Linked DNA regions of Homo sapiens: region 1 is linked to region 2. The links are contacts of gene promoters, found by promoter capture Hi-C in human tissues and cell types (Jung and others, 2019). All regions are on one chromosome and are shown on one strand. The core of a region is centred on a gene start or on the middle of the fragment in contact, and the rest is flanking DNA. Distances in the headings are between cores, read along the strand shown. Region 1 overlaps PACSIN2 (protein kinase C and casein kinase substrate in neurons 2). Region 2 holds the start of SMDT1 (single-pass membrane protein with aspartate rich tail 1).

The links. The method cuts DNA at HindIII sites, captures the fragments that hold promoters and counts their contacts. A contact is called where the count stands out against the background at its distance.
Region 1: a contact is called between a fragment that was not itself captured here and the fragment with the promoter of SMDT1 in region 2, in 1 of the 25 tissues and cell types used here (lymphoblastoid cells).

What each region holds. Positions count from the first base shown.
Region 1 is chr22:42,999,800-43,004,680 of GRCh38, reverse strand. All of the region lies in intron 1 of PACSIN2 (protein kinase C and casein kinase substrate in neurons 2), which reads left to right. Among named protein-coding and RNA genes, the nearest start is that of PACSIN2, 13 kb to the left of the region's middle. RefSeq lists a silencer at 141-240 and an enhancer at 2,935-3,114. The HindIII fragment of the contact is 3,845 bases long and covers 51-3,895 here.
Region 2 is chr22:42,077,027-42,081,814 of GRCh38, reverse strand. SMDT1 (single-pass membrane protein with aspartate rich tail 1) reads right to left here and starts at 2,115. Exons shown (of 3, transcript NM_033318.5): 1 at 1,861-2,115. The coding sequence starts at 2,046. It overlaps PHETA2 (PH domain containing endocytic trafficking adaptor 2), which reads right to left. Exons shown (of 3, transcript NM_001002034.3): 3 at 2,377-4,535. The coding sequence starts at 4,521. The coding sequence ends at 3,742. RefSeq lists enhancers at 1,598-2,370, 3,611-4,173 and a silencer at 2,396-2,690. The HindIII fragment of the contact is 9,212 bases long and covers 1-3,276 here.

The sequences.
Region 1 (4,881 bases), core at 724-3,223, 920 kb before region 2:
GTTTGTGAGCATTTTCATGTTTTAAACTGCATTTGTCTTTCATTATATTAAATTATGTTGTCGCCAACCGAGCGTGCCAAGATCATGAATTGTGGTCTTCAGAGGAACCACAGAGCAGGCAGTGCTCCCTGTACAGACGTCCAAGCCCGCTATTAGTGGGTTCTGTAGCTGTCTGATTGGCTGGAGCTGGCTGCCTGCTCGCCACTTAGCTCGCACGTGGTGATGCTTTAATTAAGCAATTGCGACCTTTGCTCCTGCAAATGTGTCATCAGATAAGGAGACTGGGCATGTGCCACCAAGGAGGATGTGCGTGGGGGGTGCAGAGTCAGTGGTGAGGGGCTGTCTGCACAGGCCCCCATGTTCTGAAGTTTCTGAGGGACCATTCAAGAAGCTTTACATTCCTGCCCATTTAATTCTTGCAACCAGATAGTGTTCTCTCCACTTGATCCATCAGTAAACCTAAGCTCAGAGAGATTCAGTGGCCTTCAGAGGGTCACCATCAGAGCTGGTGCTCTGCCTACCGAAGCCCACACTCATTTCACCTCCTCTGGCTGGCTGGAATAAGTAAGTTGTGAATCACTCTCAGATGTGAACATCTTTAAAAGATAATTAATCTTTCTCCCCCACCTCTGAGAAACATAGACATGAGGGAGATTATGTGTGTCCTTTGCTTAAGACGGCATCTATGTCTGTAACTAACTTGGTTTCAATAATCTGAAAGTTTACAACCATTTACACAGCAGGGAGATAAGGGCACAAAAGGGAGAGCTGCTGGGGTGCGGTCAAGGCCGTGGGTGACTCGCTGGTACACCCACCCCATGATGCATCCCACGTGGGACAGGAGGAAGATTCCAGAGGCCCTGGCTTAGGAGTGCCTCATCTTCGGCAGATGCATTTTAAAAGGCATCTTATGCTGTTAAAGAGCAGGTAGACAAGGGAGAAGAAATTGTGTTTCTGTAGAGGACTGCACTTTGTAAAATTGCGAAAGGTCTTCACATTTTGTCAACGTTGTGATATCACATAAGAGCATTTGCTCAGGTATATTAGAGCAGATATTTGTTTTGTTTTGTTTTATTTTGAGACAGAGTCTTGCTCTGTCGCCCAGGCTGGAGTGCAGTGGCGCGATCTCGGCTCACTGCAAGCTCCGCCTCCTGGGTTCACACCATTCTCCTGCCTCAGCCTCCCAAGTAGCTGGGACTACAGGTGCCCGCCACCACGCCCAGCTAATTTTTTGTATTTTTAGTAGAGACGGGGTTTCACCGTGTTAGCCAGGATGGTCTCTATCTCCTGACGTGATCCGCCTGCCTTGGCCTCCCGAAGTGCTGGGATTACAGGCGTGAGCCACCGCGCCCAGCCGATATTTGTTTTTATGCTTGGGATAATCATCACTTTTGTGTCAAATGACTTCTTTTTTGCTTTCTTTAAATCTTTTAAAAATTGAAGGTTCAACATAGAAAACAATGTTCTGAGTAAAAAACTCTTTGTAGTTTACCTTCCACGCACAAAGTGGTTTTTGTGTATCTTGATCAAGTAACCTATTCCCTGCCAACTTTGTACCAAGCTTCAGAAGAGGCAAGAGAGGTACGTTGTCTCTGTCCTGCCTCAAGGCAACACTTCGAGGTTGTTAGTTTGAATGTGAGGAAGCTGTAGGTAGTGAGATCAGGTGCCTAGTTCAAGGCCATCCAGTTTGTAGATGGGAGAGATCTGGAGCTTGAACTGACCTCGCTGTTTCCTTTTCAATAACTGACATTGTTATAATTGTATTATTCAGATTCACTTAAATATTTTCTCAAGTATTTTCCATGTTTTACCTTCATCTTCAAAAAGATTATTAATGGTTATATTATCCTGTTGACGTAATGAGATTAAAACATTCCCTAGTGCTGGACATTTTAGGTTATTTCCACTTTTTTGCTAATGTAGATGAATTTGCAGTTTATAATTTCATCCTTTTTCATCTGTGTAATTAGTTCCTGGGGATAAATTCCCGAGAATAGAAATCTTGTATTAAAGGGTATGAACACCTTAAGAGTGTTTTGAAAGCCTGTCTTGCTGCTTGTAAGTGTATTTTTCTGATTTTTTGGGTGAAAAAATGGGGATTCTTTCTCTTTAAAGTGCCTGCCTTGGCCTTTAGAACTTCCAAGTATCTGTGAGATAAGAAAGTTCTGTGAGGGTTTCTTAAATGAGTCACATTTCCTTCCTAAGTTTCTGGATATCATTTTACTTGAATTGGTTGCCATACTTTGATGAGCAAGGAACGCTGTTTTAGAAAATCCTTACTACTTGATGATTAATCCTTGGAGCTAATGTTCCACGTTCCCAAGGTTGTGAGTGCTTATGGCCACATTCCTGCATCAGCTCAGCCATCGCGGTAGGTATCTCACAGACCTTCTCTAGCTTTCTTTTCCTCACTTAAGGGATGCATATTGGAAAGACTCTGCAGGGTTCTTTCTGCCAGGCAGCCTGGGGGTCGTGTGGTCCTTTAGAGTTCATCTCTAGCTTCTAGATGCTGCTCTCATGGGGGTTCCTGGCTCTGTTCATCTCCAGAGACAAGCATCTCAAAGGGAACCTGGGAAGTTTATAGCACTGGTGCTTGCTTGCCTTGTTTGCTTGTTTGTTTTTCTGTTCTGGTCTGCTGTGGAACTTGTCACCATGTCCCCTCCCCATGGACTGACTTTCCTACCCTCCACTGTCCCTTAGGTATTCACTCTCAGACTGAGTGGTGTCCTGTTTTCCTGGTGGCTCATTTGCCAGGGTCTGCAAAGGACAAGGTGCTTAGCAGGGACAGAGAGGGGCTCCAGGTGGGGAGCAGTGGTCAGGCCAGCTGACCTTAGTGCTTACCCCTGGGTCCCCTCCCTAGAATTCCTGCGATGCCTCCACCATGTCTACCCTCTCCCCACAGGGGCTGTTTCCCTTTTAGTTCTCTTGCCTTACTGTGGGCAAAAGCTTACTTTTCTTGGTTCCTCTTATCCCAGCTAAGAAAAGCTGATGTTCACAACAAAATGAAGAGACTTGACTACCCAGGAAGGTAGACATAAGAGGAAACAGCCACAAACAGCACAGGCATACAAGTGTCTTGCTTCCCAAGCACAGGCAGGTTTTTGTGCCCACACTTCAGGGCTCGTCTGACTGCACTGGCTCTGCCAGGCGCTGCCCAGCTTCCTGCTTCCCCTCCCAGTCCTGCTTCTTCTGTCAGTAAAACAAAATTTTAGAGTGATGCTTTGCTTGATGCTTTGGGGGCTGCATTTTTATCACAAGTGTGGAAATTGTACTTTGCTCTGGTTTCTACAGATGCCTAAACATGTCTAGGTTGCTGTTGCCTTGGCAACTGGCTGAGCTGTTGGTTGTGTGTGTGGTGAAGGTTCTGGCAGGGGCTTCATGGAAGCCTCTGGTCATCCTTAGAGCTTTTCAGCTAAGCTGGCGGTTACTCCCAAGCCCAGAACCATATGCTCTTAGCTCCCCTTTGTCGTTTGGAGCTTCCCATTTTATTTCCCTGAGAAATCCCTGCTCAGCTGCCCTAGACTTGGGTGGGTGGTATGGCATGGCATGGCATGCACTGATAGGGCTGATTTATTTCGAGACTGGATTTTTGGTAACACAAGACGTGATTCCATAGCAGCCCTTGGCCTAAGTTTTATTTGAGGTCGGACGGGGCCCAAGGGCTGCTTGTGCTCTCCCTTCAAGTGCCTTCTGCTTTTTAGGCCTGGGGTGCTTGTTGGGGCCCAGAGCTGGGCCTTGCCTGAGAGTCACGCAAAAGCAGGGCCTTCCAGTACTCCAGAGGGGTACTCCTGACCACCTGTAAGCCATGGGAAGAAAGTCAATGTGATTGGATCACGGCAGTGCCACACAGTATGTCTCCTTTTATGAAGACTGAGTGAAAGGATATAATCAATTCCAGTTTTATCCTTTGTTATTTTCTTTAATGCTTCTTGTATTTCCTTTTGGATTTATTTCTTTTCTTCTTAGTCTTGCAAATGTGAGTCTGAAGTTGCTGATGTGGGGGTTGGGGCTGACTCATCACCTCCCCTTATAGCTCAGACAAGTCACCTTCCTTAAAGTTTTTTGGGTGTACGCTCATTTCCAGAATTGCTATTTTGGGCCCATGCTTTTCTCTCTGCTGCCTCTACTAGGAACTTGCAGGTTCACGAAATTTAGAAATAGTTTAACATAACATGAGCTCTTACTAGTAAGTAAAGAGGTGAGTAGAGAGAGAAACCTCCTCCAATCCTCCAAACCCTCCAAAAGCCTCATGTTAGCAGTGTGATTGGTGGAGGTGGAGACAAACTCAGTCCATTGGGAACTCGTGGGGTTACCAGGTGGGAGAGGGGAGTTCTCTCCTTGGGGTAGAGTTGGCAAATTACCAGTCCCCACAAAGGCTGCAAAGCCCTGCTACCCACTCCCTGTGCATCCTGCTGTCCAGGATGGCTGGCTTTTGGGGTCCTGACCTGGAACCCGGGTTGCTTTTCCCCATAGGAGGGCCTCTGTCTGGAGCAGAGGTTCAGGGAGAAGCCTCTGGCATGTTTTGGTCTTGGGCCGGCCCCGTCCATTGGGGCTACAAGTGCCTGCAGTGAGCTGTTGTTAGTAAGGAGCTCTGCAACCAGATTGCCTGGGCTTGAATCCCAGCTCTGAGATTGGTTGTGATACCTACCTCACCTTTGAAATGGGGATCATGATAGGATTGTTGTGCAGATGGGATGCATGAATGTGTGCCCTGCACTTGTGATGGCATTGCCCTTAGAGAACTCCATTGTAGCACAGCCATCGGTGCCTCTGAGCCTGCCAACCATCTTGCCTTGGGACTCTTTGATTCCCACTTTACAGTTGAGGAAATAGGCTCAGAGAAGCTTAATATATCTTCAGATCTGGGTCTGTCTCAGGGTT
Region 2 (4,788 bases), core at 866-3,365:
TTTTAAAGTCCTTGGAAAAATTCAGGGCAAGAAAAGTAATTAGAAAAGGAGAAGGCCAGGCAGGGTGGCTCACACCTTTAATCCCAGCACTTTGGGAGGCTGAGGTGGGTGGACCACCTGAGGTCAGGAGCTTGAGACCAGCCTGGCCAACATGGTGAAATCCCGTCTCTACTAAAAATACAAAAAATTGACCCAGCATGGTGGTGCGCACCTGTAATCCCAGCTACTCGGGAGGCTGAGGCAGGATAATTGCTTGAATCCAGGAGGCAGAAGTTGCAGTGAGCCAAGATTGCACCATTCCACTCCAGCCTGGGAGACAGAGTGAGGCTCTGTCTAAAAAAAAGACAAAAGGCCGGGCGCAGTGGCTCACACCTGTAATCCCAGCACTTTGGGAGGCTGAGGCGGGCGGATCACGAGGTCAGAAGTTCGAAATCAGCCTGGCTAACATAGTGAAACCCCGTCTCTACTAAAAATACAAAAAATTAGCCGGGTGTGGTGGTACATGCCTGTAGTCCCAGCTACTCAGAAGGCTGAGGCAGAAGAATCACTTGAACCCGGGAGGCGGAGGCTGCAGTGAGCCAAGATTGTGCCACTGTACTCCAGCCTGGGTGACAGAGTGAGACTCCGTCTCAAAAAAAAAAAAAAGGAGATAAGGTGACTGTTATGGCCATCAAAATGGACGAAAAGTCCACTGGAAAGAAAAGTCTAAGGCACCCTAGACATCTAAAGTTAGGACACAGCCTGCTAATTACTTTAAATCCCTACAGGCAATCGGGTGCACCAGTACTAGGAGGGCCAGACTACGGTGAGCTCTGCCTGAACACGAAATACACGAAAACCGATGACAGAAAGATGTACAGTGAAGGGATATTCTACACAGTTCACTAAGTAACAGGTTCCCTGATGCCTGAGAAATTTGATTTAAAAATTTTAGAAACAGATGTATTTGAAAGTGGGCATGTATTTACACTCAAAGACTTTAGATGGATTGGGAGAATGTCAGTAAAATCTCAGCAACATTTCTCTCGTATTCCTAGAATTAAAAAAATTTTTTTTTCAACTGTTTTGATAAGGCAGGTCTTTCCCAACATGGACCTACAGTCAATTGTGTGAGTTAGCATAGGCTAGACTAGCTTTAAGAGAATTTGTTTTTTTAACTCCCACACCACACAGCCCTGCAGTCGTAAAGCAAACTTTCGCTTGATATAAGGGACTGTTTCCGTTTTCCCTAGAAAAACTCAAGCATGTGATAGCGTTCAGTGTTGGAAAAAGACAGGACCTGGTGGGGACGGTACCAGGAAGAAACCCGGATGCTGCGTCCTCAGCGCTGGCCTTGGATACGAGCTTCACCGCTCTAGCCCGATTCTTCATTTGAAAACCCGTGATTGTAATAATTCCCTGCACATCTATCAGGACTGTAAATCACATGAATTAAATATTAGGTGACAACTAATAAAAAGATGAGGCCCGTCCCACGTACCCTTTATTTACAGAGTCCTTTCAAAATTCATATTTCATCCCATAAACTAGGAGACAGGCAGGGCAGAGATTACAGGACTGCTCTAAGCTAGAAGCACACGGCCTAGTCTTCTGACTCCAGAGGAGCAGAGCACCGCACCTCTCAGGACAAGCTAATGTAAAAGGCCAACTTCCTCAGCGTTTGCCCCCCATCTTCTGTCTACCTACCATTTTCTACACACCTGTCAAAATTAGCAACTCATTAGCGTATTCTTGGTCCGCCTTCCAGTCTACGGTAATCGTTATGATTGGCCTTGGCTCCTATCAATCAGCGCCGCCCTCACGCACTCCCCACAATGATTGGCCTCAGCCCCTTCGCCCCGTCTCCAGGAGGACACTCACTTTCACCGGTTTGGGCAAAATGGCGCCGCTGCGGGTAACGATGACTGACCTCGACGGTACCAGGCTCCGGCCTGAGCCGCTCCATGCGGCGGAGACATCGCCATCTTTCCTCAAGCTAGGCCCGCTCCGGAGAGCCCCGGACCTGACGGGTGCCAATACTAGCCAGCGAGCCGCTCCGGACGCCATGCCCCCAGCTCCGCCCCTCACCCGGGCACCCGCACCCCACCGCCCAGCCCTCGTGCCGCCCTCGGGAAGAAAGCCGCCCGAAGCCTCGCGAGAGTTTGAGGAGTACACGAGAAGCCCAGCCCTCCCACTCGCGCAGTGCCGGCGGCTCCTGGGGCGGCGGGAGGGAGGTGTTTGTCACTGGCCGGCATGGTGGCGTCACGAGAGTGGCGGCGCAGCCCCGGCTCCCTCAGTCCGCGTCCTGCTGGGCGTGGCCGCGGTCTTGGGTCCGCCCGGCCGTCAGAACAGGCCTCAGCGGCCGGTTGTGGAAATAAACCCAGGGAGCGGAAGGAGTAATAACGAAAAAGCTTTACTAGTGTTTTAACCGTGTACAAAACACTGTAGCAATAAGAGAAAGGCCCGTGCTATCTGTGTTTAAACAAAATGCAGTGGCTGCGGGGCTTCCAGGCAGGGCTGGGGAACAGGCCGGGCGCCCGCCTTGGGCGCATCTCCGCCTCTTAGGGGTAAGAGGCTCAGAGCCTACCCCTTAGGCCTAGTTGGATGCGGGTCGGTCCTGCCCAAGGCCCCAGTGAGGGGAGCCGAGGCTAGGAAGGGGCAAGTTTTATGTGTTTGGGAGGGGGTGTCTCTTCCCGGCCTCTGCGTCTTCCCCCTGGAGCGTCAGTATGGTCAGGCTCTGGTGACCCAGCCGCTTTGCCTCCCGACTTTGGGAAGAGTAGCAAGGAGAGGTCCTGGCAAGTACACCCTGGGTGACAAACGGCTATGAGAGTTCCCAGGTGATTTCTCGAGCAGCTTCAGTTTACCGGAGCCCAGCCAGGAGAGAGAATTTTAGCACAGGAAACGCAATCCCGTGTCCAAGCTCCTAGAATACCCAGGACTGAGAACCAAAGCAACAGACTTTTCCCAGGGAGCCACACTGCCTCCCCACCTCTTCTTTAACCCCTCACTTGGCAGCTCCAGGAGTTGGCTGCTGAAGACAGAGTACAGGAGGGCATTTCGTTGACGTAAAAAAGCTACAAGCCCCTTCCGGGGCAAGGTCCAGCACCATCTGTTAACAGGGCAGCCAGGGAGAAAGGATGGGACCCCAGCACTCTGAGCAGAATAAATCTCTCTTCACTGGCCGAAGACCCTCTGCCTCAAAGGGCCCTACCCAGACTGCTGAGTGAGGATCCCATCCCCAATCTTCCCACCCCTCTCAGGAAGAGCTGGGTCCCAGAAACTCCTATGACACAATAAATCCACTTTCTCTGACAGTGTCAGAGCTTCAAGCCGATACTGCAGCCTACCTCGGATTTAAGTGCACAGGAGACTCCCCAGGTTGGAAATTATGGCTCTAGAGCCCGGTGTGTAGGCCAAAGGTATGGCAAGCCTGTGACAGTCTCGGGTGACATTCCCCACTTCCTTCATTTCATTAACATCCCCTGGGAGGGGGCAGTCAGGCCAGTGCAGTCAGGAGATTGGGGTCTTGCTCTGTGGCTGCTAAGTCTCCTTCCTTCTCTGGACCTCAGGAAATAAAGAGGATGGAAGGAATGGTCCCGCAGTCCCTTCCAGACACACGGGTGGATCTCGAACCTGGAGAATGCCTAAATAGCAGGAAGGAGAGAACCCATGTCCCCTCCCAAAACGCAACCTTGGAAATGGGTAAACATTTAACTCCTGAAAAAGAACTGGCCCTGGTTTCCTGACTCAAAGGGCCCAGACTTAGGGCCTATCCTGTTCCTCACATTTTGAGTGGCTCCCCTGGGCCCTCTTCTGCCAACACTGCCGCAGCTCCACGATCTCCTGGCCATACCAGTCATGCAGGGTAGAGAAGCAGGAGGTCTCAGGGGACACAGGGCTCTGCCCCTTGCCTAGGAGGAGGCTGGCAGGGCCCTGCAGCTCCCACTCAGCCAACCCCCACCCTGCAGACCTGCTGCCCGCTTCTTCAACCAAGCCCACAGGGCTGCTGTCCTTGGAGAGGCAGTGGCCATTCTCCAGGCCCGCAGCTCGGTGGTTAGGAGCCTGGGGCTTACAGCGGCTGGCAACAGACTTCCAGGATGAGCGGCGTTGCAAAGCCAGGCTCTGGCGTGCGTCCTGCAACTGGCTCTCCAACTCGCGTACCACCAGGCGCATGTAGCCAAAGCTTGCCCGGGACAGCACCTTCACCCAGGCCTCCTGGGCCGCCGGCCCTTCTGCGGCCAGCAGGTGTGGGCGCACTCCAGGGGCATCAAAGCAGATGGCAAAGGCAAACTCCTCGGGCACGGGAGCCTCGGCCAGTTCCACTGTGCAGCCTTCCAGCACCACCAGGCTCAGTGGGGCCCGGCCCTCGCGACTCTCAAAGGAGAATAGCAGGTTGCCCTTGAGGACAAACCAGCATCTTCGGCCAGTGCCACTGGGGGTCGGTGGGGTCCCTGGGCCCCCCCAGGTGCGCAGGAAGCCCATGTGGTCCGCTGGGGAGTCGCTGAGTGCATAGTGGGCTACACTCCTCTCGTTCAGCTTCATGGCTCCCACGGGAACTGTGAGGCAAGAGAGATGGCAGCAGATCAGAGAGGGAGGTGGTTCCGTGCCCTCCTGGGGAACAGCACCGGCTCCAGAGGCAACCTGGACCCCAGCCCTGGGACTCCTACTCGCTTGCTGTGTCCCTAAGGTCCCTAAAGTCTCCTGAGAAGTGGGCTCGTCTTTCCTTCCTTTTCTCTCAAAGGGATGTCGTGAGGATCATGCAAAAAAAACTGGACACTGGCGGACTTCGAGAAAAGAATAACGAGATTG